Linked DNA regions of Homo sapiens: region 1 is linked to region 2. The links are contacts of gene promoters, found by promoter capture Hi-C in blood cells and fetal thymus (Javierre and others, 2016). All regions are on one chromosome and are shown on one strand. The core of a region is centred on a gene start or on the middle of the fragment in contact, and the rest is flanking DNA. Distances in the headings are between cores, read along the strand shown. Region 1 overlaps GAB2 (GRB2 associated binding protein 2). Region 2 holds the start of KCTD21 (potassium channel tetramerization domain containing 21).

The links. The method cuts DNA at HindIII sites, captures the fragments that hold promoters and counts their contacts. A CHiCAGO score of 5 or more calls a contact.
Region 1: a fragment that was not itself captured here is called in contact with the fragment with the promoter of KCTD21 in region 2 in 3 of 17 cell types (neutrophils, fetal thymus and activated CD4 T cells); the score reaches 6.9 in neutrophils.

Annotation. Positions count from the first base shown.
Region 1 is chr11:78,289,988-78,295,887 of GRCh38, forward strand. All of the region lies in intron 1 of GAB2 (GRB2 associated binding protein 2), which reads right to left. Among named protein-coding and RNA genes, the nearest start is that of USP35, 100 kb to the left of the region's middle. RefSeq lists an enhancer at 276-570. The HindIII fragment of the contact is 9,513 bases long and covers 1-5,900 here.
Region 2 is chr11:78,185,831-78,192,593 of GRCh38, forward strand. KCTD21 (potassium channel tetramerization domain containing 21) reads right to left here and starts at 2,796. Exons shown (of 2, transcript NM_001029859.3): 1 at 2,743-2,796. USP35 (ubiquitin specific peptidase 35) reads left to right here and starts at 3,089. Exons shown (of 11, transcript NM_020798.4): 1 at 3,089-3,327. RefSeq lists silencers at 2,513-2,852, 3,283-3,442. The HindIII fragment of the contact is 4,363 bases long and covers 1-3,825 here.

The sequences.
Region 1 (5,900 bases), core at 444-2,943, 100 kb after region 2:
CTAAGAAGTTTCATCTTTCCTTTATTTGTAACGGGGAGCCATTGAAGAGTATAGATCAGCAGAGAAATGTTAACCAATGCTGTGCTCTCATCTGGCAAAGTGCGGGAGACAAACCAGAAAAATAAAAAATAAGAGACAAGAAAACAATTAAGAAGCTGTTGCGATAGTCTGCAATGGTGAGAGAAGATGGCAATCTAAATTAGGGTAGTAATAACGGAGACAAAAGACAATGAAAGTCACTTTACTTAACAGTGGGGCTTAAAGAAGTATATGGATAGGGTCTACTGTCAAGAAAGTTGGAAAAAAGAATTTGTGTCTAGGATCAAGGGTATGCCACTCCCATCTCTGATGAAATAGAAGTGACTGTTTTCCTTCTGTCAGAAAACAAACCATTTCACAACCATCAAGACCACAAAGTGTGGGTACATATGACCTGGAAGTTGCATCACTCCTAGCTGTTGAACAGACAGTACATGTCACATGAACCTGTCTCTATCCTTTGGGTTAGATCTCAAGGTCTTCAAGCATGTAGAATGAGGCTATAACTTCCTCTTATTGCTCTTGGCGCCCAGAAAACCTAGGTGGGCCACAATTTAGCTGTGCAAGAGTGTTATGCTCCCTTCTGGTGACAATGAAGGCCCGTGAAAGTTTATCACACCAGGATTCTGCAAGATTCTGCCTGGAGTCATGATCATAGTGTTGTTCTAAGATATAAAGGGCCGCCAATATGTGGAAGAGCGATTTGATTTATTTTTAGTTACTCAACATACTCAAGTTGAACAAGTACCAGCAGGAGCAGTCTACGGAAAACCAAATTTTATTTTTTTTAGAACGTAAGAACTTTCTAAATGAGTGGTCCAAAGCAGGTCTCTTGGAAACTGGAGAATACTCAACACTGGAGATTTTGAAGAAAGAGGCAAGGTGAGGGATCAGCAAACTTTGTTAAGGATGTTAGCAAATATTTTGGGTTTTACAGGTCATATTTTCTCTGTCATAACTACTCAGTTCTATAGTGGCATGACAGCAACCATACACAATTCATAAGCAAACAGGCATGGCTGTGTTCCAATAAAACTGCTTAGAAAAAGAAGTGGTGGCAGGATTTGTTTGTTGACTCCTGGCCTAAACAAAGGGTGGGAAGGTTGGGGAGTGTGACAGAAGAAGGGCTCAAAGAGTAGATCAAGGCTGGGCGTGGTGGCTCACGTCTGTAATCCCAGCATTTTGAGAGGCCGAGGCAGGCAGATCACGAGGTCAGGAGATTGAGACCATCCTGGCTAATACGGTGAAACCGTCTCTACTAAAACGACAAAAAAAAAAAAAAAAAAAAAATTAGCCAGGCGTGGTGGCGAGCACCTGTAGTCCCAGCTACTCGGGAGGCTGAGGCAGAAGAATGGCTTGAACCTGGGAGGCAGAGCTTACGGTGAGCGGAGATCGCACCACTGCACTCCAGCCTGGGCAACAGAGCAAGACTCTGTCTCTGTCTCAAAAAAAAAAAAGAGTAGATCAATAGATGGACAAGAGACTACCTAAGGTCTATTCTCCCCTATCTTGAGAGACTTACTTTTTTCTTTTTCTTTTTTTTTTTTTTTTTTTTTTTTTTTTGCGACAGGGTCTCCCTCTGTTGCCCAGACGGGAGTGCAGTGGCGCAAACATGGCTCACTGTAGCCCCGACCTCCTAGGCTCAAGCGATCCTCCTACCTCAGCCTCCCATTTAGCTGTGATCACAGGATGCGCCATCATACCCAGTTAATTTTTTTTTTTAGAGATGGAGTCTCACTATGCTGGCTAGGCTAATGTCAAATTCATAGGCTCAAGTAATTCTCCCACCTCAGCATCCCAAAGTGCTGGAATTACAGATGAGCCACTGTACCCAGCCCCTTATGTATTTTTTAACTAAGAAAACATGATATGGTAACACCTCATTTAATCAGATTACTCAGATTCTTAGAACAGAGGGATGTGTTCTTCTGAATAACCACATCTCCACCTGGGAGCTTCACTAAGAGGTGTGTAGGGGTGTGTGTGTGTGTGTGTGTGTGTGTGAGAGAGAGAGAGTCAGTCTTTGTTATTGGTGAATTTTTAAAAAATAAGGCAAAGAGCTTTTTGAAGATACAACTGTTATGTTCTTCATATACCCGCCTAACAGGTTTAAATTATAGGTATCACCCAGTAACCTCAGTTAGATTCAGATTAACCATAAACCTCACTTCATAGGATTCTCTAGGTTTACTGGCAGTTTTTGGTTTTACCCTCTTCAGAAAGCGGGAAGTTAAAAGGACACGCCTATTCCAGGAGTTTCGCAAAAGCCTCTTCCAAGTAATGTCTTGCCCCTTCTACAACCTTAGCCACAAGGCACGTGAGATTTGGTATCAGAAAAGATGATTTGAGACCTTGAGAAGTCCTTAGTCATCAAAGAAGAGTTCTGTTATCTTTGGTATACCAAAGTCAGGGCAGAAGATAGAAGATTCTGGAGGTTTAGAAATATTTTCAACTGTCAACTCTCAGGTGGTGATGTGGTTGAGTTCTAGCTCAAACAAACACAAAGACACAGGGGAATCTGATCTCACTTCTGAACATATGATGTACAAGTCTATCCTAATATATTTCAACACGAAGCTACTATGCCAGTCTCGTGTCCCATAATAGTTAACAGCAAACATTACAAGAGTACAGTGGGAGTCATGTAACAGTTACACATTTTTGAAGGCACACTTCCTGAGCGAGGAAAGGCTTTTTGCTATCCTTCCTCTAGCAATCCTTCGACTACTCTGGACCATAGAGACTTTATACTCTCTGAGGAAATTTTTAAAAGTGTATTTGCTGAGCTCTTGCTACCTGCCATGTGCTTTCTACTCATTATCACATTTAATCCTTTAACAAATGCTGCAAGGTAAATAGGATCCTCTTAACAGGTGAGGAAAAAGAAGTTCATAGAGATTAAACAACTTACAGAGACCACAGCCCAAGATCTTCTTATTCTGTGGGTCCAGACCCACAAAGAACTTGAGGTGAAGCTACTGCAGATGAATTGCTCACTACACTTTGAGAAACACTGGCCACAGAGTTTATGAATTCAAGTTTATAGTTAATTGGTGATGGCAGATGGCAATAATGCAACTAGAATCTAGGCCTCAGCTCCTAGTCCAAAGTTATTTCCACTCCTCAAATGCAGATCCCCTAGAAGAGAGCAGCATAGTTAACTGTATTTGTTCTGGACTCATTCATCTGAGAAAGGGCAGATAAGTACAGTTTCCCTCGGACTCTAAAGGAACTTATTTGCTCCTCGGGCACAGAATGAATTTTTTCTTACCCCAAGACTATGACATTCTGAGGTCAGGGGCTTTTGTATCTCCAGCATTTATTTAGCACAGGACTTGATACTTCCAAAGCACTATATAACTGTTCAATGAAAGTTATACCAAAGGAACAAAATAATGTTTATTTGCTTCTGTTTTGGGGGAAAAAAACCTCTCAGTCAGATGATCTGTTAATTTAACACAATCTCTATTCCAGGTAAGATGGTACACAGACACCATAAACACAAAAGATCACCTAGAATCCTTTATATAAAGCTGACTCCAACTATAGGCTTCAAGGAGTAGATCATGGTAATCTAGATTAAGCCAATTTGCACCATTTCATCCTACATGCCACTGTGATCAGTTTAGCGACAAGCGTTATGTTCCAAGCCAGCTCAGAGTCATTAAGATTCAACTCCAGGACCTTTGTTTTGTGTTACTCAAACTGGCTGTGTCACTGGACAAAGGGTTGTCACAATATTTCCCTGAAGTTGCAGGAACCACTATTTGTCGCCTAAGAACAGCCAACCGAGAGAGAGCAAGAGAAAAAGAGTACGTGTGAGAGTGAGGGAGAGCGAGAGCATGCAAGCAGGTTAAAAGATGGATATTGATGAAATATGAGTCTTTTTTTATTTTTATTTTTATTATACTTTAAGTTTTAGGGTACATGTGCACAACGTGCAGGTTAGTTACATATGTATACATGTGCCATGTTGGTGTGCTGCACCCAGTAACTCCTCATTTAGCATTAGGTATCTCTCCTAATGCTATCCCCTCCCCGCTCCCTCCACCCCACAACAGGCCCTGGTGTGTGATGTTCCCCTTTTTGTGTCCATGTGTTCTCATTGTTCAATTCCCATCTATGAGTGAGAACATGCGGTGTTTGGTTTTTTGTCCTTGCGATAGTTTGCTGAGAATGATGGTTTCCAGCTTCATCCATGTCCCTACAAAGGACATGAACTCATTTTTTATGGCTGCATAGTATTCCATGGTGTATATGTGCCACATTTTCTTAATCCAGTCTATCGTTGTTGGACATTTGGGTTGGTTCCAAGTCTTTACTATTGTGAATAGTGCTGCAATAAACATACAGGTGCATGTGTCTTTATAGTAGCATGATTTATAATCCTTTGGGTATATACCCAGTAATGGGATTGCTGGGTCAAATGGCATTTCTAGTTCAAGATCCCTGAGGAATCGCCACGCTGACTTCTACAATGGCTGAACTAGTTTACAGTCCCACCAACAGTGTAAAAGTGTTCCCATTTCTCCACATCCTCTCCAGCACCTGTTGTTTCCTGATTTTTTAATGATCGCCATTTGACAAACCTGACAAAAACAAGAAATGGGGAAACGATTCCCTATTTAATAAATGGTGCTGGGGAAACTGGCTAGCCATATGTAGAAAGCTGAAACTGGATCCCTTCCTTACACCTTATACAAAAATTAATTCAAGATGGATTAAAGACTTAAATGTTAGACCTAAAACCATAAAAACCCCAGAAGAAAACCTAGGCAATACCATTCAGGACATAGGCATGGGCAAGGACTTCATGTCTAAAACACCAAAAGCAATGGCAACAAAAGCCAAAATTGACAAATGGGATCTAATTAAACTAAAGAGCTTCTGTACAGCAAAAGAGACTACCATCAGAGTGAACAGGCAACCTACAGAATGGGAGAAAATTTTTGCAATCTACTCATCTGACAAAGGGCTGATATCCAGAATCTACAATGAACTCAAACAAATTTACAAGAAAAAAACAACCCCATCAAAAAGTTGACGAAGAATATGAACAGACATTTCTCAAAAGAAGACATTTATGCAGCCAAAAGACACATGAAAAAATGCTCATCATCACTGGCCATCAGAGAAATGCAAATCAAAACCACCATGAGATACCATCTCACACCAGTTAGAATGGCGAAATGTGAGTCTTAACCTGAGGCTGAGGCCAGATTTAGATTTTCCCCTTAGACTTTCCGGGTCAATAAACTCTTTCCTCATTTAAGGTAACTTAGGTCACTGATCAATACAGGCTGTAACCATATGTCCGAACCAGTTTGCTACCACCGGAGTAACTCAGGGGTCCTTTACAAGAGCCCTGATCATATTCATTATTCAATCCACTTTCTTTTTCCTTCACTTTCAATGTCTTTTCCATTAGCACTTACTCACACCTACACAAACTCTCCCTTCCTCATTCCAATCATTCAATCAACATTTATGAAATCCAGTAATGCCAGGTCCTTCAGGATCTCATGACTTATGGAAAGGGCAGACAAGTACAGTACATAGGTAACTCAGTACATGGTCAGTGCTCTTATAATGGTATGAACAGAGGTTCTCAGCACAGTTCATGTAGGTGTTCTCAGCACCCACATGAACAGTGGATGCTTGACGGAGAGGACTACTCTGCTTGCCTCGAGGAGTCACAGAAGTTTTACAGGACAGGTGGCACTTGGATTGGGTATTGAAGGATGTGAAGAGTTTTGCTGGGTGAAGAAAAACTGCTGGAGGGAGAACTTTCAGGAAAAGAGAGTAAGATGAGTATAGGTGACTCTTGTTATTTCTGGTAGTTATGGTCTGTAAAGTCAGCA
Region 2 (6,763 bases), core at 1,546-4,045:
ATCCACCCACCTCAGCCTCCCAAAGTGCTGGGATTACAGGCGTGAGCCACCGCGCCCGGCCAGGTCTGCCTATCTTCTGTGCTGTGATTCTGCCTGGAAGAAGATGGCTGTTCAGGCCTTGTTTTTCCTGCCTCATCATGAACCCAGAATCTCTGTAACTCGGCAGGAAAGAAACTCCTGTCATGACTCACTGTGAATGTTGACAAAGAGAGGCCACTCCTGGGCCTCAGAAATGTCAAGGATGGGCAGAAAGAACTGGAGACAGGCCAGGCTCAGTGGCTCATGCCTGTAATCCCAGCACTTGGAAGGCCCAGGTGGGAGGATCGCTTGAGTTCAGGAGTTTGAGACCACCTGGACAACATAATGAGACCTCGTTTCTATAGAGAAAAAAAAAAATTAGCTGGGCATGGTAACACGTGCTTGCAGTCCCAGCTGCACAGGCTGAGGTAGGAGGATCGCTTGAGCCTGGGAGGTCAGGCTGCAGCAAGCCGAGATCACGCCACTGCACTCCAGCTTGGGCAACAGAGTAAGACCCTGTCTCAAAAAAAAAAAAAAAAAAAAAAAAAAAAAAAAAAAAGAAAAGAACTGGAGAGGCTGTGTGGGGTAGGGGCAGACCATGCATGGTATTCGGCATTACCTGGGTTTGCATTTGAATCATCCCCTGCCACTTACTAGCTGTGCAGCCCTGGGCACGTTCCTGGGCAGATGATGATGATCATAACAACAACAAACACTACAACGGCAATAATAATGGCTAACGTTTATTGAGCAGTTACTACCGTGCTAGGCACTCTATACATGTTAATCTCTTTCAATCTCACAGATTAAGTAGATACTATTATATACCTACTTTACAGACCAACCATACTGGGCCCTCTTCGACTTCTGCAATTTGGCATCTGCCATCCCCTCTGCCTGGACCTTGAAGACAAATCCCATGCATCGGCCAGGTCTCTCAGCTGGAATTCATTCCTTCTCCTCTGCATCTGCGGAGAATTTTAGTCTAACCCCTTACCACAGCCAACTTTACTTAAGTAGATGGATGCCTGGCTCCCTTGCTGGGGCTGGGGGTGCCCCTTTCTATATCCACAGAAGCACGTAGAATAGGGGAAGAGGAAGAAATTTCTCTCCTGTTTAGTCAGATCCATTTTCCCCACCTGGATTTTCAAAACTTTTTAATTTTGAAATGCTCTGTTCAATTTTCAATCTGGAATCTAAAGGGATGTGACAAGGCCGAGGTGATTACTTGGGAGTAAATGCAAGGAGAGTTTCCACTGCGTAAGGGAATGGACAGCACGTGGCTGGGTAAATTTCAAAAAAGACAATGCTCAGAGTGAGTACTGTGTTTTCCAGTAAGTGGGAGACTTCCCCACCTTACCCCACCGGAGAAAGGACTCTTTGCCTTGAAGCCCCTAGGACGACTACCCTTTCTTCACCTCCTCTTCCTGACCACCCCACATCAAAGAGCTGCGTCTATAATTCTGTCTTGCCCAGTCCATATCTCTAAGAAATCCGAAGGCTGCTCTATTACCATCACAACCCATAGGGAGGAGAGAAAAGGTGCTTCCTAGACACAGGGACCCCAGAATGAGCTGCGCAAAAGGCAGGAGGAGAGAAAGGTGGGCTGGAAGAAGGAGACCACGGAATCTGGCACGGCAAGGTATTCTTTCATCTGGCGTAGACCTCCAACAACCACTACCATCCCCCAGCCCCTTCCAGAACTTTCCTTCACCTTCTCGGCTCACTCTCACGCTTCACCTTGTGCTTTTCCTCCGGCACCAGCACCCCATTTCAAACCGCTCTCTTCCTATGTCTCCTCCAAACAGTAATTTATAAACACCGTGCTTTCAAATCCATCTCATTTCATCCTCACAGTACTATAGGAGGGCTGCCTTACAGGCTGTCATTCGGAAGGGTTGGGGGGACTGGTCCTGCCAGACAATTTGCGAAGGTCGGGGCATCAAAACTTTTCTTTCCTGCCTCCCACGCCAAGCTAAACCTCTGCCTCCCCGAGTGCAGGGAGAAAAGCAAGGTCTTTGAAGTAAGGAGTCCTGAGTGGTTTTAGGCAAGTCCCTTCGCTTTTCTGAGCCTCACATTCCTCACCTGTCAACCGCTATAGTGACGCCTCTACTTTTCAGGGCGTGGGAGGTCAATGAGATCACTGGTGTGCCGCACTGAACTCGGGGATGGACTCTTTATTTCCAGTCAGTAAAGGGAGGTGTTCTATGCATCACAGGCTTTTGCCCACGCCGCCACAGCGCGGCCGGCCCAGGGCTCTCCAGAGCGGGGCAAGTTCCCTGTCATCTGTGTCTCCGCCCTTCCTTCCCCAATCTCACCCAGGCTGGCCTCATCGGCTTGTTCCGCACCCACTCCCCAGCCCTACAGCCCCCACTCCGACCTGACAAGTGCCCCACCCCCACCTAGAGATCCCGCCTCTCCTTGCCCCACCCACCAAGGACTCCTCCCACAGTCCCGACCCTCATTATCCGGGCTTTTCCGACTATCACCATCCGCCCTTGCTCTCCCAACAGCCCCGCCCCTCTAAGAGCTCTGCCCACTTCGGCTCACCTCGCTCCGAAACGCGCCCCCTCCCCCGCACCACAGGCGATGCCATCCCCATTTCACAGATGGGAATGGCGAGGCTGGGATAGATTAGTCTCATGGTAAGACAGGTGCTCAGTGGGCCCACGTACCCTCGCCGGTAGTCCCCGAGCCCCGCGACCCCGGCCGTGCCGCACCCACCTCCTGCCCTCGCTCTGCAGCCTCTCCCTCCGCGAGCGGCCAGCGCAGCTTTGCGAGGGGGGCGGAGGGTAGGAGCCCAGCCCAGGGGCGTGGCGGTCCGGGGTCTGTGCGCTGCCTTCCGGGACTGGTAGTTCTCTCTGGGCTCCTCGCAGCTCGGCGCGTCGAGAGCGAACTCCATCTCCCAGGAGGCATTGCAGCGAGTTGCTCTGCGCCCCGCCTCGTCCCCGCCGGTGTCCGGCCGGCTGGCCTTAAAGGGGACGCGGTCAGAGTGGCAGCTCGCGGGGTGGCCCCCGCTCCGGCTCCGCCCCATTTCACGCACCTCGCCCCTCCCCATGCTTCATCCCGCAGCCCCGGGGCCGCGCCGCAGAGTCGGGCTTCCTGGATACATAGAGGCTTGTGCCAGGCGGGGTGGGAAGACTGGATTTTGCAGTGGAAGCAGCATCTCTTCCGTCTGGGACCTGGCTGAGGGCGTCCCCACCCTGGGGGGAGCAGAGGACCAGCCCTGACCTAGCCGGGCCCAGCCTCGTCCTGCCCGGCCTGAGCGCCCCGCCCAGCAGCCGGCTCTGGCCCACCGGGGTCCGGGAGGTAAGGGGGTTGGGGGCGTGTGACTGTCTTTGGGGGGCGGTGTCTGCACCCTGGCCTTTCGAGAACCCTGGACTTGCGAGCCCAGGGCTGGGAGTCGGGAGATCTGGGTGCATCCTGGGCCTCCTGGGCCTCACTGTGTGACCTTGGGCGAGTAGCTATTCCTCTCTGGGCATTAATCCCCTCCCTTCATCAATTGTATGTCGAAGTGATCCTGCTCCCTCCCCTTTCAGGTAAGAGGGCATTCGCACCCAGTACCTAGTACATTCGCTTGCTGGCTTTTCGTGGGGCCCTCCAGCTCAAGCGTGGGCTGGGCGCGGGTGCACTGGAGGGAGGGAGGTGGCACAAACTGGGGGGCCCGAGGCCACCATTGCTTGGAATGGGCTTTTCCTATTCTCAGTGTGCTGGGCCCTGGGATACCCTCCCCAACCCCCTCTTACGGCCCTGGCCCTTGCAAACCGGAGACCCTGATGTGTCAGCTTGGTGCCCTTCCTTCCAGAAAGCTTGGGGTGGAGTGCGGCCCTCACAGGTTTGTGAGGGGTGGCCCCGCAGGGATAGGTGTGTGTGGTGGGTTCCTGAGGAGGAATAGCTGCTCCTGCTTTCTTCCCTTCTCTCTCCTCCTTATCCTTTGAGGAAGAGCAGCTGCTTTTTACCAGTGAAACCCTTTTTTCTTTTTCTTTCCAGGAGACAGTTTGGTGGCCCAGACATGGGCCTCCCGGAGTAGGGTGAAGCACTTCTTCCCAGGGTTGCCTTGGGTAGAAGTTCAGTTAAAAAATACCTAGAGAGATGCTGCCATTCAGACACCTGAGGGGCCAGAGATGGAGGGCACCACCTGGTGTCGGGAGGGGCAGCCTGGTACCCCCAAGGAAGCTCTGGCTCCCAGGGGAGTCAAAGGAGGGAGGCTGGCTTCGAGGGTCAGAGAGGGGAGGAAATGTGCTCCTCAGCTCTTAGGTGCTGAGCAGAGGCTGGGAGGGGCTGCTCTGACCTGGAGCAGGGAGAGGTTGAGTAACACCATGAAGCCTTCTTCTCAGGTCCTAGGAGATTCTGTGAGCTTTTGACCTGAAGGCTAACCAGGAACAGATTTTTGTTTTGTTTTGTTTTGTTTTTGTTTTGTGCTTTTTCTTTTGCTTTGGTTGTTTGAACAATTTCTAGAATGGCTAAAGCCTCAGTCCAGTCCAGTGACCTCTGTAGGGGCTTTCTTGACTGATGTTTAAGATTTTCAGGGTTTTTGATATGCAAGACCAGGCCTGGGCAAAGGAGGGGGTGGTGACTGGACCAAAGGTTAGGCCAGTTTCTGGAAGGTACTTTTGTGGTTACATCTTTGGTTTTCTCTCATCTTGCTGTCACATGTCTCTCATGAGTTGCTTGACGCACCTTCACGGACACCTCAGTCCTTGGTTCTGTACTGGGCACTGGGCTCAGAGACGGGGATTGGACCTCTGCCAAGGGAGGTCCCAGCCTGGTGGGAGACAGAGACATGGATTCCAGTTATGCTGCAGAGGGATGAGAATAGCTAAGAGGGCCTTGGAGGCCAGAACTTTAGACACTTGAATTGTGGAGGGAAAAGGAAAGGCTTCCCAGAGGAGAGGGCATGTGAGCTGGGCATTGAAGGGTGAGTCAGAATTTTCCAGGAGAGAAGAGGGAAAAGCCCTTTTTCAGTAGAGGGGACATTGTGCAAAGTAGCAGTCAGGAAAAAGCCCCCTGCTCCAATGTCTGCAGAGTCTCCACTGAACAATGTTGCTTGAGTTCATCTCCACCCCTGCCCCACATCAGCTGAGTGTCACAGAAAGGGCTTGCATGTCCGGCTCAGGAGTTTGGACCTTATTCTGGGTCCAAGGGGCTGGAGAGTGTTGAGAGTTCTGAGCAGGGGCATGGACGGAATGGTGCTTACCGTGTAATAAGCTCCATCTGACGATGCTGCATCTGGAGAGACCAAGGAGGGATGATGAAGCTTGAGCGGGGGCCCAGGGCGTGGCAGTGGGGCTGAGCATAGGAGTTGTGTACACACACATACACACACACACACAGGGTGCTTTGGGGTGATGGAGATAAGTCAGGCTCAACTGTGCAGGAGCAGAGATCAGTCAACACTCGGCAGAAATGTTGAGGGTCATCCGAGAGGAACAGGTGAAAGGATCTGGGCCTTTTGGCAGAGGGATTGGGATTTTCCTGAGTGCTCACTGCGTGCCTTGGAGTGTGCTGGTGTTGCTGGGACGCCCCTCAGGCTGTCATGCCAGTAGGGCGAGGGGTATGAGGCAAGGGCTTGGGAGGAGCAGCAGCGCTGGCTGGGAAAGGCTAAGGGGTGGGCACGTAGTCACCTTCTATTTGGGCATTCCGAGGATCACAGAGGTAAAAGAACACCTACCTCCATGGTGGCTGGGCTAGACTCGAAGCCTGGACTCTGTTCTCCTCTAGGACACATGCCTCTGTTGGAGGATGGATTGAGGGAGGGAATTGGGAGATGGGTTAGGAGGCTACTGCACTAGTCCAGGCAAGAAGTCAAGGGGTCTGATCCTGGGTGGGGCTGGGAACACCGAAGTGGCAGGGAGGGCTAATGGAGGAAATGCCTTGGAGAATCAGCAGGATCAGCAGTGCGTGTCTCCTTGTCTCCTTTCCCTGACAGTATCTGTGTCTCCCATCAGTGCCAGGTGGCCCAAAAATAGACTCATGACAGCCCGGCCCTCATCTTTTTTTTTTTTTTTTTTTTGAGACGGAGTCTTGCTCTGTCCCCCAGGCTGGAGTGCAGTGGCATGATCTCGGCTCACTGCAAGCTCCGCCTCCTGGGTTCACGCCATTCTCCTGCCTCAGCCTCCTGAGTAGCTGGGACTACAGGTGCCCGCCACCACGCCCGGCTAATTTTTTGTATTTTTAGTAGAGATGGGGTTTCACCGTGTTAATGAGGACCTCATCTTTTTTATACCTTGTCTCAACCCTGTGAATGGTAGGCTTGGAATAGTCCCCATTTTCCAGATGAGAAGGCTAAGAAGCCAGGCAGGGGCTCACCCAAGGTCACCATGACTTTGAAGCAGAAAACCTGTATCTTCAGCTTTTAACACAGGCTCTCCTCGGGGAGGACATGGCTGCTGTTTGCTGCTGCGGTTGGTGCGGGGCAGCTGTCTCTTGAGTCAGAGCCAGCATGGACAGGCCATCTCCTCACCCGGGGCTTAGCAGGCTAATCCAGCCCTCCTGAGGGAGGCAGAGTGCAGGTTCTAATCCTGCTTTGCCAAGGCCATGTTCCTCTCTCTGAGCCTCACTTTCTTCATTCCTGCCAGTGGGATAGCTGGCCTTGTCCTCCCTTCCCTGGCCTGATGGGGCCAGGTGAGGTGCAAGCCTCTAAAACCCTTTTGTCTGAGTGCATGCAAGATATTGAGTGGGTTTGCTGGTGACCATGGTGACAGCTGTCCTCAGACTGCCTGCGTGGGAGTTGGGGCAGGTGGGC